Regions from separate parts of the Homo sapiens genome. Here region 1 is linked to region 2. The links are contacts of gene promoters, found by promoter capture Hi-C in human tissues and cell types (Jung and others, 2019). All regions are on one chromosome and are shown on one strand. Each heading gives the region's core, a stretch centred on a gene start or on the middle of the fragment in contact. The rest is flanking DNA. Distances are from core to core; before and after follow the strand shown.

What was found. The method cuts DNA at HindIII sites, captures the fragments that hold promoters and counts their contacts. A contact is called where the count stands out against the background at its distance.
Region 1: a fragment that was not itself captured here is called in contact with the fragment with the promoter of GPR161 in region 2 in 1 of the 25 tissues and cell types used here (adrenal gland).

Annotation. Positions count from the first base shown.
Region 1 is chr1:168,102,634-168,108,209 of GRCh38, forward strand. GPR161 (G protein-coupled receptor 161) reads right to left here. Exons shown (of 6, transcript NM_001375883.1): 2 at 1,844-2,261. The coding sequence starts at 2,217. Among named protein-coding and RNA genes, the nearest start is that of GPR161, 32 kb to the right of the region's middle. The HindIII fragment of the contact is 8,551 bases long and covers 1-5,576 here.
Region 2 is chr1:168,134,281-168,140,547 of GRCh38, forward strand. It overlaps GPR161 (G protein-coupled receptor 161), which reads right to left and starts at 2,650. Exons shown (of 6, transcript NM_001375883.1): 1 at 2,459-2,650. RefSeq lists silencers at 2,293-2,522, 3,051-3,345. The HindIII fragment of the contact is 4,691 bases long and covers 1,101-5,791 here.

The DNA.
Region 1 (5,576 bases), core at 192-2,691, 33 kb before region 2:
AGACCCCAGATTTAAGCAAGCAGCTTACAGTCTCCTGGAGCTATCCCTGCAGATGACTGGCATGTTTACTGAGCATTCATATAGAGACAGCTCTGAGAGGAGCACTTAGAGACCAGCTCTCCATCTCTGCAACTAAGCTGTTTAGCCTCACTCCATGTTCCACGGGACCCAGGGCCCAGAAAGGGATGTTCAAAACTTAATAATTCAAAAAAAAAAAAAAAGTTAAAACAACAAGATCCCATTCCTCCCCACTGCCAACAAACTTCCAAACTTTTTTTTAAAAAAAAATTATATAATCAGTCCTGATAGGCTATTGACAAACAGCTGCTGAAATACAAATTTGTACAACTTTCTGAAAGGTCATTTGCCTTTTATATATCAAGAATCTTGAAAGCATGTTTACTGTTACTGAGAATATAGCAATTACACAAACACACATGCTCCTCAGAATGCTATAGTGAATAGCAAGCTATGTGAAGTCATCTAATCCAGTAACAGGGGACTGTGAAAATAATTTATATACCTCCACAGGATGGAATACCTCGTAACCATGAAAAATCACCTTCTTCAAGGATATTTGAAAATAAGAGAAAATGCTCACCATCACCTAAATGAAAAAAGGAGGACAGAAAACCATAGGAGCCAGAAGCCTATTTCAAAAATTTGCTGTATACAACCAAAAATTACTGGAAGCAAATATACTAAAAACATCAACAGTGATTGTTTCTGATGGTTAGATCATGTGTTTCTAATTTCATTCATTATATTTTCTGGATTACCTCTACTACTCAGGGAAAAAAAAAAAAAAAGAGAAGCTAATTGATTTGTTTTGAGCAATGGCTTCATTGGTTCTGCCTCCCCAGTGCAGCCACAAAGAGCTGCCAGATTCCAGCCTCAGGTCTAGGTGCAGTCTGTGCTCCCAGTGGACAGTTCCACTACCACTCATCGACTGAAAAACTGACAGTCTCAAAAAAGCCCGGGGACTTGTGTCACCCAGTGACAATATCCCTGGCTAGCCCCACTCTGTGTTTTCCCTAACCCCACTACTTACTCTCCTCCCCAATTCCTGGTAAATGACACAGACCTTGAATCTATCCTCCCTGTCCTCATGAAGCCCAACCTGTGCCTGTGATGAACGCAGTGGCCATTAGCAAAATTCTAATAAATGCACTCATTTGTGGGAAACTCGCTGCCAAAGCCCACAAGACTTGTACAACTAAATCTGACAGCATAATGCGGGACCCTGAAGAACCCGCGAGATGCTGCTTAGGAACATCAGCTGCGCCTGACCTCCCCGTGCATCAGCTACGTTGAGGGCGGGAGCAGCCGAGTTTCCAAATGCACACGGCCTCTCCCCGGTGTCACTGCCTGTATTCTCTGGCTGTCTTCCTTCCCCCTGCTCTCCTTTCAGTCCTGGACTGTGGGCAGTGAGGGTGTTCCCTGTTCGGGCTGCACTAGTCAACACCAAAGCAAGACAGAGCAGGGGTCACACTGGGAGAAAGAGAAGCAGAGTCAGAGGCCCTGGACCCAGTGCTGCCCGGAACTGAAACCTGCCTTGGCTTCGGCTTCTTCATCTACAAACCAAGAATCAGAGGTTTCTACAATGTTTTATTTTAGGCGATGGAAGCTCTTTTTAAAATATAATATTGTATGTAACATCCACAGACAAAACGAGATGTGCTTTGGTTGAAGAGATGGCTCCAGAGGCAGAACTCCACCTGGTCATCCTCCCCCAGCAAGGGCCCCTGACACTCTCCAGGGAACTAAGGCAGTCAGAGGGACACTGCACCAGATGAGCGCCCGTCAGTAATCCCTCAATTCTCTAAGTCTGAGGCATGCTTACCGGTCGATGGCAATGACCCCGAGGGTTAGCATGCTGGCAGAGCTGATCAGCAGGTAGAGGAGGGCAGAGAAGTTGCACCACACTACACCAAAGATCCATTCCCTGCGGATGGAGCTCGTCACCACAAAAGGCAGCACCAACACGGACAGCAGGAAGTTGGACAGAGTCAGGCTGAAGACGAACTTGTTGCTGAGGGTGAGGAGGTAGGACTTCTTGTACAAGGTGACCACGATGACCAGGTTTCCCAGGCAGACAAAAATGGTGATGACAATGATGGCGATGAACTGGGTGATGATGACGCCCCCTTCGCCACCCTCCTCCTCAGTGAGATTACTCAGCTCCTTCCTGCAGCTGAGGGAGGAGTTGAGGCTCATGGTCAGTGCACCTCGGCGTGGGGTGGGCAGAGCATGCTGGACGACTGGAAAGATAAGGCAGGACCAGGGGACAGGAAAAGATTCATCAAATCACATCGTCTCCACCTTAGGGAAGAAAGGCTTAAAGGGGTTAAGTGCTACGCCTCAGATCACCCAGCTAGTACAGACTCTCAGCGGGTCTTCCCCACGTAAGCGCTACATAAGTGGGCCATTTTCTACAACCATGTGTGAAATTCATTACATCCCCCTGACCAATTTCTTCCTCTGGTCTAACCCATCCTATCCATTTTCCCAAGACCAGTGGTTCAAAACCTTTAATGTGCTGAAGAATCGTCTGAAGTGCCAGTTTAGAAAGCTGATCCTTGAGCTCCACCACTAGAGGTTCTGGGCGCAGAGATCACAGGCACAACCTAGGAATCTGCATTTTAAACAAGCAGGCTGGGGCAGGGGGCAGGGGGCTGTTACAAGTGGTCTATGGGAGACACTCTGCAGACTGCTGTGTTTAGACCCTGGCTACTCAGGGTGGGCCCTGAACCAGCAGGATCACCATCACCTGAGAGCTCACTAGAGAGGCAGAACCTCAGGCTCCGCATCTCCATCTCACGGAATCAAATCTGCATTTTAGCCCACCGCCAGTCAGTTTTGGTGCACATTACAATTTGACTGTAAGATTCTCATGGGAATTGTTCTGAGCTCCCTAAGCAGGGATTAATCAGGTACAGTTTATATGGGGACGTCATTACTGTTCTCATCAGACACGGCGAGGGAGGGCAAGCACTAACTGTAAATGGGGAAGTAGAGGCACCATTTGAGGTCTTGGCCCACAGACATCACTGTCTATAAGGTGCAGTCCCTGCCCTCAGGAAACTGGCTTGGGATCTTGGCTAAAGCCGCAGGTTGACACATGTTAATGTTAAATCCTACAGACTAATGTTTCTCCAAAACTCTTCATATACTTCAGTTAGCCAAAAAACCCCACAGATCACTTTCCCCACCTGCTCTCATTCTCTGCACACAGAAGACACCAAAAAGAAAGGAAAGATCGCTTTCCACGATCAAGACAAAAACTCTGCTGCCTAAACTGCCTACACACAGCAGCGGGGCCATCCTCACAACCCTCGTGGTGGATCCGCTGCCTCTACTCAAACACTCTTTGGCCAGAGGGAGTGCATGGGTTAATAGGGCAGCCCTTCCCCTCACCAGCAGTCCTAAGTGCCAGAGAGAAAGCTTCCCTCATAGTGAGCTGTATAGTGGTTTCCAGACCTTTCACTAACTCAGCTTCCCTGCTTTGTATTTGCTCTCAGATGTCTATGACTCTCTTGATTTGCGGTCCCCAAAATTGAACACACCATTCTGGATGTATTTTGATAAGTGTCAGGTCCAAAGGGGCAATTATCTCCATGATCAGAATAATCCCCTTCTACTATTCACTCTAAGAATACATTTTCTGGAGGCAGGGCGCAGAGTGGCTCACACCGGTAATCCCAGCACTTTGGGAGGCCCATGTGGGCAGACTGCTTGAGCTCAGGAGTTTGAGAGCAAGCCCGGGCAACGTGGCGAAACTGTCTCTACAGAAAAATACACAGAAAATTATCCGGGAATGGTCGTACATTCCTGTACTCCCAGCTACTTAGCGGGCTGAGGTGGGAGGACCCCTTGAGCCCAGAGGTCAAGGCTGCAGTGAGCTGTTTGTGTCACTGAGCTCCAGCCTGGGTGACAAAGCAAGACCCTGTCTCAAAACATTTTCTTGTAGCAACTAATTCTGTTGGGCTTATATAAGTGTGTGATTGACTAAACCCCAAAGTTTATACATACATGAATTTCTGTGAAGACAGATGTCCCTAATCTTGAACATGTGGAATTAATGTTTTTAAGCCTATGTACAAAACATTATTTCTACTAAATTTCCCTTTATGCATTTTGGCCCATATTTCCAGGCTGCTAAAGTATTCTGAATTTTGATTCAGTTATGTAACATATTAGTTACTCCAGCTTTGTGCTATGGAGATACTTTCTAGGTGTGCCTTCTATGTCTGTGTCTTTGTAAGGTTGTTTTTGGTTTTTGCCTTTAGTTGGCGAGTTCTGGGTTTGTTGACTCTAATAAGTAAATTATTAATTAACGTCTCAAAGTTTCTAAATAAGCATATTACTGCACAAGGGACAACATGGTGATTAAGAAAATAGACTTTGCATGTAACAAGCCTACACATGTACCCCCAAATCTAAAATAAAAGTTGAAATTATAAAAAAAGAAAGAAAATAGAGGTTGAATCATTAGACAAATGAAATAAAGAGAGGAAATGTTTATAGCTTATATCACAGATAAAAAGCTAATCATCCTCATCTGTAAAGAACTAGTTAAAAAAAAATCAAGAGAAAAAAAACAGATGAAAACCCAGAATAAAAAAGTGGCCGTAAGACTATTATGGTTTGAATGCCTGTACCTTCTGAAACTCACGTTGAAACTTAACCTCCAATAGGCAACATGGAGAAGTGGAGCCTTTCTAAGAGGTGACTGGGTGATGAGGGCTCTGCTCTCGTGAATGGAATAACGCATTCATGGATTGATGGGTTATCACGCAGTGGGACTGGTGGATTTATAGGAAGAGGAAGAGAGACCTGAGCTAGCACTCAGCCCCCATCCATGTGATGCCCTGTGCCACCTGGGGATTCTACAGCGTCCCCACCAACAAGAAGGCCCTCACCAGAGGCAGCCCCTCAACCTTGGATATTTTAGCCTCCATCACTGTAAGAAATAAATTCCTTTTCTTTACAAATTACCCAGTTTCAGGTATTTTGTTATAAGCAACAAAAAATGGACAAAGACAAAGACCTAAACACAGAGTTCACAGAAAGATATGCCCATGGTACTCAAACACTGAAACAATACCCAATTTCACTGAAAATAAGAGAAATCCATGTTAAAACTACACTGAGATGCCATTTCTTTCTTTTCAGACCAGGAAATTCCAAAGGTTGGCAGCACTCTCTGCAGGCAAGGCATTGGGGAAACAGGCACTCTCCTACACTTCCAGTAAATGCAACTGGCAGAACCCTAGGGAGAGGAATTGGGCAAAGGTAAAAATACTAAGTGTATGCACCCTGTCTTAGTCTGTTTGCATTGCTATAAAGGAATAACTGAGGCTGGGTAACTTATAAAGAAAAGATGTTTATTTAGCTCATGGTTCTGCAGGCTGTACAATTATGGTGCAGCATCTGTCTCTGGTGAGGGCTTCAAGCTGCCTCCACTCATGGCTGAAAACAAAGGGGAGCCAGTGTATGCAGATCACATAAGGAGAGGGGAGCCAAGAGAGGAAAGGAGGTACCAGGCTCTTTTCAACAACCCATTCTAGTGGGAA
Region 2 (6,267 bases), core at 1,400-3,899:
CCCTGAACATATTTGCCATGAATGCTATCCTCTCCCCTGCTGAGCACATAAAATGTGCAAGGAAATAGATTAAAACTAGTTGTAAGCCTTTTCTCTTGGTGTAGAAACAGAGTCATAGACGAGTACTGGGTGAATGAATGAAGTATGGAGTCATAAAGTCAATCCCTCCTCCAAACTCCAGGTAGCACTGATAGCTATCTCTAGTTCTGTTGATGTTTTTTGTTCTTATAGAAAAACAGCAAGAAGACACCATTTCTCCCCTGCTGTCATGCTTTACTGCATCTCAGAATGACAGTCAGTGCTTCCCAAGGTCTCACACAGAAGACGCAAGCAGCCTGCACACATAATTTGGTTAAACTGCACGCACATTAAAAAAAATGTTTTGAATCAGTTGCTATCTTTAAAAATATATGAAGCTTGTTTTCCGTAAAAATTTACAGTTTCCCCCAAAACTAAGATCAGGCAACCATGTGCTGGAGCCCCACCGCACCTGCAGCTGCCCCCTTACTGGAGACAGGCTTAGCAGCACACAGCTCCCACCCAGCCCTCCTGTCCACCCGCCTCCTGCACTCAGGCTTCCTGACTGGTCCCTGCTGGCAGTGGAGTTTACACCACAGAACTGTACCTCCTCTTGCTGACATTTAGGTCAGTTCCAGTTCAGCCCATTCTGTCTTCCTCGGAACCCAAACAGAGAGCTCGCAGCCCTCTGACCACACAGTGCTCCTTCACCTCTCAGAGGACGCACAGTGCACCAGGCTGCAACACAAAGAGAACGGTTCGGATATCGTTGCGGCCTTGGATTAGTTCCAAAATGTCAAGCGGGCCTCTTAATGAGGGGTCTCTATTCTTGATGTTATGGCAGTGGAGCTACAGGGCAGGGAGAAGCCCTGAGTTAAAGAACTCACCTGTGTGCCATCAGGAAACCACGTGAAAAGCACTACCAAGGCAAAAGATCTGAGTTCAATCTGGGCTGCTTACCTAGCTGGGCAAGAATGCTTCATCTCTCCTGAGCCTCAGTTTCCTCACCTATCAAATGGGCTAGTAGAGCTTCACAAGGTTGTTGTGTGAATGAAAAAGTGTACATGAAAGTGCTTGTAAGCACCTGACAAGTATAAAATAAGACGGGTGTGGAGGAGGACCGGAAGAGAGGTGCTCTGAAAGAAGTAACAGAAATGGGTGCCATGCATTCCAGTTACAGTTGAAGAGCCTCTGTCTCTATGACCTGAGGTCCCTCCCACCTCCTCTTTCTGCCCTGAGGGCCTGAAAAATGCCTCTCTTCACTTGCTCCCAGTGGCTGCAGTAAAATAGATTATAAGGGAAAACCGCCTATTCCCCGAAGCAGTAGCTCTCCAGAACTCATCTGGAGGTCCAGGTCACTAGGGGAGAAGAAGCCAGGCTGAATCCACGCCTGGCTCCACGGAGGAGCCACAAGGATGGCCATCCTCCCCCAGCCCCTAGGACGCTGAGACAGGCTCACCGGAGGTTATCGGTGTCTCCATTGGACAATCAAGGAACTGAGGTTCTTTCCCTCCAAAACCACACACCTCCTCACGGCTTCACCGGGAGGTGGATCAAATGACCTGCTCTATGAAAGCACTTTGCAAAAGGGATGAAAGTACAATAACAAGCAAAAATAGCCTCCAAGATGTGATATAAAGCGATGCCAATGCGCAGCTATGTGGTTACTGGTGAGCAGACCTCCGGGAAGCACAGGACACACCCCACTTACCCAACAGACGTTCTCATCCCATATGCCTTTGTCCAAAGGTTGCACGGGGGTTAAGCTTGGCCCAGAAGGCGCCGAGGGCTGGTCGAGTTCTCCCCTTTCCAAGAACCAGCCGAATCTCCCTCCCGCAGATCTGAGGGGCAGAGCCGCCCATCCGGCGGCGCCGGGCCACTTCTGGGCGCGCCACCCGCCGCCCGCCCAGGCTCGGGGAGACAGCGCCCTGAGTCCCGGCTGGGAGAAGGCTGCTCACCTGGTCCTCACGGATTCCAGCCGAGGGGCGTGACCGCTTCTCCCCACACCCTTTGCCCTGAGCGGGACGTGGAGTCTCTTGGCCCCAGGGGGCGCGGCCCGCATCGGCAGAGTCCCGGGCACGCACCTACGCCCTCCCATCCAGCGGACTGTTTAGGGGCTTCGGGCGGCGCCGGAGAAACGGGGCGGGCTGCACCCAGCAGAATGGGGTGGGCCTCTCAGAAGCCCCAGGCCGCAGGGGAGGGGCGCGCCCCCAACATCTTCCCACAAAGAGCTCCAGCTCTCCAAAGCAAGGCGCAGTGCGGGCGGAGGACAGCCCTGACCTCCGAGAGGGGCGCGGGGAGAAAGGGAGCGCCGTGGGGGCGGGGACCCTTCCCGGCCCGCGCCCTGAGCCCTCAGCCTCGCACAATGAGTTTAGCCTGGCTCCATCCGGACCGCCCTCTCCGCCCGGGCCCGCGCCCGCGCCCCACGCCGGGTGCTCACCGAGGAGCGGCCGCCGCGGCAGCTCAGGCCCCGGCCCAGCCGCCTCCCCGCCTCGGCCACCGCCGCCGCCGCTTCCTTCCTCCCCGCCGCGCTCCGGGACTGGAGGTTTCGGGTTTCAGCCCACCGAGCCCCGCTTCGCTCCTCCCGCGGGCCAGCCACCAGCACGCGGACCCGGGCGGGCGCAGGCCAAGTAACTTTGCGGCGCCCGCGCCCCGCCCCGCCCCCCCCACGCCCGGCCGGGCCCCTCCGGCCCCCGGAGCCCCGAGCCGCCTCCCCGCGCCCCGCACTGCCCCGCCCCGCCCAGCTCCCGGCGCCCCTCCCCACCCGCGCCCCTTCCTTCGCGTCCGTCCGCCCGCCCTCCCGGCTGCTTCTTTCCCATTTCTTCCCACGAACAGCCTCGGCTGCTGCTCTTTGTCTCGCCCTTACCCTCTCGGCTCGCCCCACTTTTCTCCTGAAAACCTTTGTGGTGCCTAACTCAGGCCTTCCCTGTTCCCGTTCCTCCGCCCCAGTTCCAGCCGCTGGGACGTCGCCTTTTCCATGTCTCTCTCCATCACACAGACACTTTCAGATTCTTCCCGCAGGCTCCGCACAGTCCCATTCTCCTCCTCCAGTCCCGCCGTGGACGATCCTGGTATCGCCTTTGCTGCTCACCTTTCATTCATCCAGCCGACGGGCACGAGCATCCATCTGCCTTCTGCCAGGCTCTGTCCCGGGCTCTGTTAATACCACAGTGAATTCGTCCCGAAGCCAGCCCCGGGGAGTGGGGAGTGGACGTAAACAGGTCTTCACACTGCTGCCCTGCACTCCCTCGGAACCAAAAGGCCAGGGAGCAGTCATCACAAAACAAAGAGCGGGCGCTGTCAGCTCGGGGGACGGAACAGTTCCTTCTCAGAATGTTTGTTTTCCCTTCCTCACTCCCCACTTTGCCTGCCTGTCTCCAGACTCCTACGTTTTCTATGCAGCAGTCTTAATAAGGGGATGAAAAGTTGAAGCACAGAGTAGAACTGCTAAAAAGGGAAAGAAGGAAGGACAAACAGGGCAGCAAAATAATCAGGTAAGAAGTTACAAAGCCCAGTTCACTAAACTCCAGAAAAAAAAAAACAAACCCTGATGCTGTGCTTAGAGCAGGATTCACATTCCTCTGAAATCCATCTGCTTTGATAAATACATTAATTATTCCCTTGTCTACAGATTGACACTGTGGGAGATGCTTCCTTAATATTATTGGGCCACTGAGGCACAATTTAGAACAGTAATTTACTGTCTGGCACCTGCCAAACACCCACATTGCTCTGGGGACAAATGGGATAATGGGGAGAAAAAAGTAAATGGGTGCCTTAATATTCCTATGGGATAAATGCTTTATTTGGTCAAAAACTGGAAGCTGACGCTCCACTTAAGAGTCTAGGTCACGCGGCAAGCCAGACACTTGAAGGAGCTTAAAGCTTTCTGTTCTTAATAGTATTTTAGACACTTATTTTGAAATCCCTGATATTTATTTAATTTACACTGACTCAGATGTCGGCTAAGCTCTATGAGCCTGAGGGAGTGAGTTAACCTTCCTCTCAGCTTATTCATATATAAAATGGGGATACTCATACTTTCCTATCTGTAGAGTTGAAAAGGTTAAATGAGGTCATGTAAGTAAATCATCCAGTGACATAGAATCTGAGAACTAAACCCTTTTGAAAATTGGTATTCACGAAAGGTCTGAAAATATATGCCACAGACTGGCATGGTGAGAATGAGAATAAAAAATAAACAGTTACGGCTGTTGTGGCTCCATACCCATCCATGATGCGAAAGATGTCCTTCATACTGAGCAACCTTTTCCCATACTTACTCTATTTCATTTTGAACTCTTCAACAGAAAACACTTTTTTTCTCCTGCTGCTCATTATCAAATGCATTATTTATCACAAAGATTTTTCTTTTTTCTGAGCTCATAAGCTCAGAACTTACTGTGCATTCAGGGATGGAAATTGCTGCCAACAAATGCATTTTCAATTGCTCTCTTAAGATTTTTTTCCCTTCTGGAGCTAATATTGAGCTATGAGCAGAATTCAATCAGATGCAGAGAAAACAGACAAATTATTATTAAAGTAATTATTTCACCGTATATCATTGTATAGGTGACAATTGTGAAAAACGTGACTGATTTTGTGCAAGAATGTATTTATATTTTTTTAGAAAAAGAGAAAGATACACACTAATTCTCCTTTCCCAAATTAGTTTAATAAACCATTCTGTTTTAGAGACATCCACAAAGACTTATAAAGTAAGATAATGAGAGGCCTTGTCCAACTGAACCTCACATGTGTGTTGAATAATTTATATATAAAACATATTTTATGTAAAATATCATTTCAGTCTAGCAGTCCACATAAAACTGGTGAAAGCAAAACTGTGAAATATGCTATTTGTTCCACATGGAATGTTATTTCCTCCACTCTTTACAGGCCAAGCCCTTCCTGCCCTTCACATCTCACCTTAAATGTCACTTCCTTAGAGAAGTCTTCCCTGATGGGATCTTGCTATGTTGCCCAGGCTTGTCTTTAACTCCTGGGCTCAAGCTATCCTCTCACCTTGGCCTCCCAAAGTGCTGGAATTACAGATGTGAGCCACTGCACTCAGCCCCTGACCAATCTAAAAGAAATTCTCTAATCTATGTACTCTTTCACAGCTCTGTTGTTTTTCTACATAAAATGTGTCCAAATTTATAAAATATGCATCAATTTTTCTATTTATTTGTTTACAGTATGCCTCCACTGATAGAATGGTAAAACCATTTGACCTCAGATGGAAACTTCCCTGAAACTGATGTGCCTCTGGACTGATCAGAAACAAGAGCCAATCAATATACATATATTTTTATTGAATCAGTATGGGTTTATTTCTGTTACTTGGAACAGAAAGCATCTCACTCAGTGATTCTTAATACGACATTTTGAAAGGCATTTTGGGTTTGTCACAATGATTAGAGGACACCCCAGGCATTTATTGGGTGCGGCCCAGGATACCAGACATCTTGCAGTACATGAAATAGTCCTACACAAAAAGAACAGTTCCTTTCACACATGACAGTAAAAACTGTCTATACTTTTCTAAGTCTGAAACCAAACTATTTTACATATATCCATGAGGGGTTTTTTTGCATGGTTTTGTTGTACAGCAATTTGTCTAGGAATGCAAGTACTATGTGAATTGAAGGAAGATTGCACCTTGATTTACTCAAACCTCACCAAGAGTTGTTCAGTATTTTGGAAATCACCTCACTATTAACAATGCCACTCATGGTATCAGATTTACTAGTACAAGTTAGGTGACTTGGTCTACATTTATATATCTGTGTCATACTTGCAGTGATCCTGTCTATAACTTCAAGTGTCTGACCACTTCATGATGTCATCCACTAGGGCTGATATATTGAAATGAGCATTATTGGGCTGGATGCGGTGGCTCACTCCTGTAACCCAAGCACTTTGGGAGGCCAAGGCGGGTGGATCACTTGAGGTCAGGAGTTCAAGACCAGCCTGGCCAACATGGCAAAACCGTGTCTCTACTAAAAATACAAATATTAGCCGAGCATGGTGGCACATACTTGTAGTCCTAGCTACATGGGAGGCTGAGGCACAAGAATTGCTTGAACCGGGGAGGTGGAGGTTGCAGTGAGCTGAGATCGTACCACTGCCTTGTCCTACACATCTCTTCCATCTGGCTTCTCTTGAATTGCATCCTTTGTCATAAACCAGTAATCAAAGTAAGTAAAGTGCTTTCTTGAGCTCTGTGAGCTGTTATAGGAAATTATT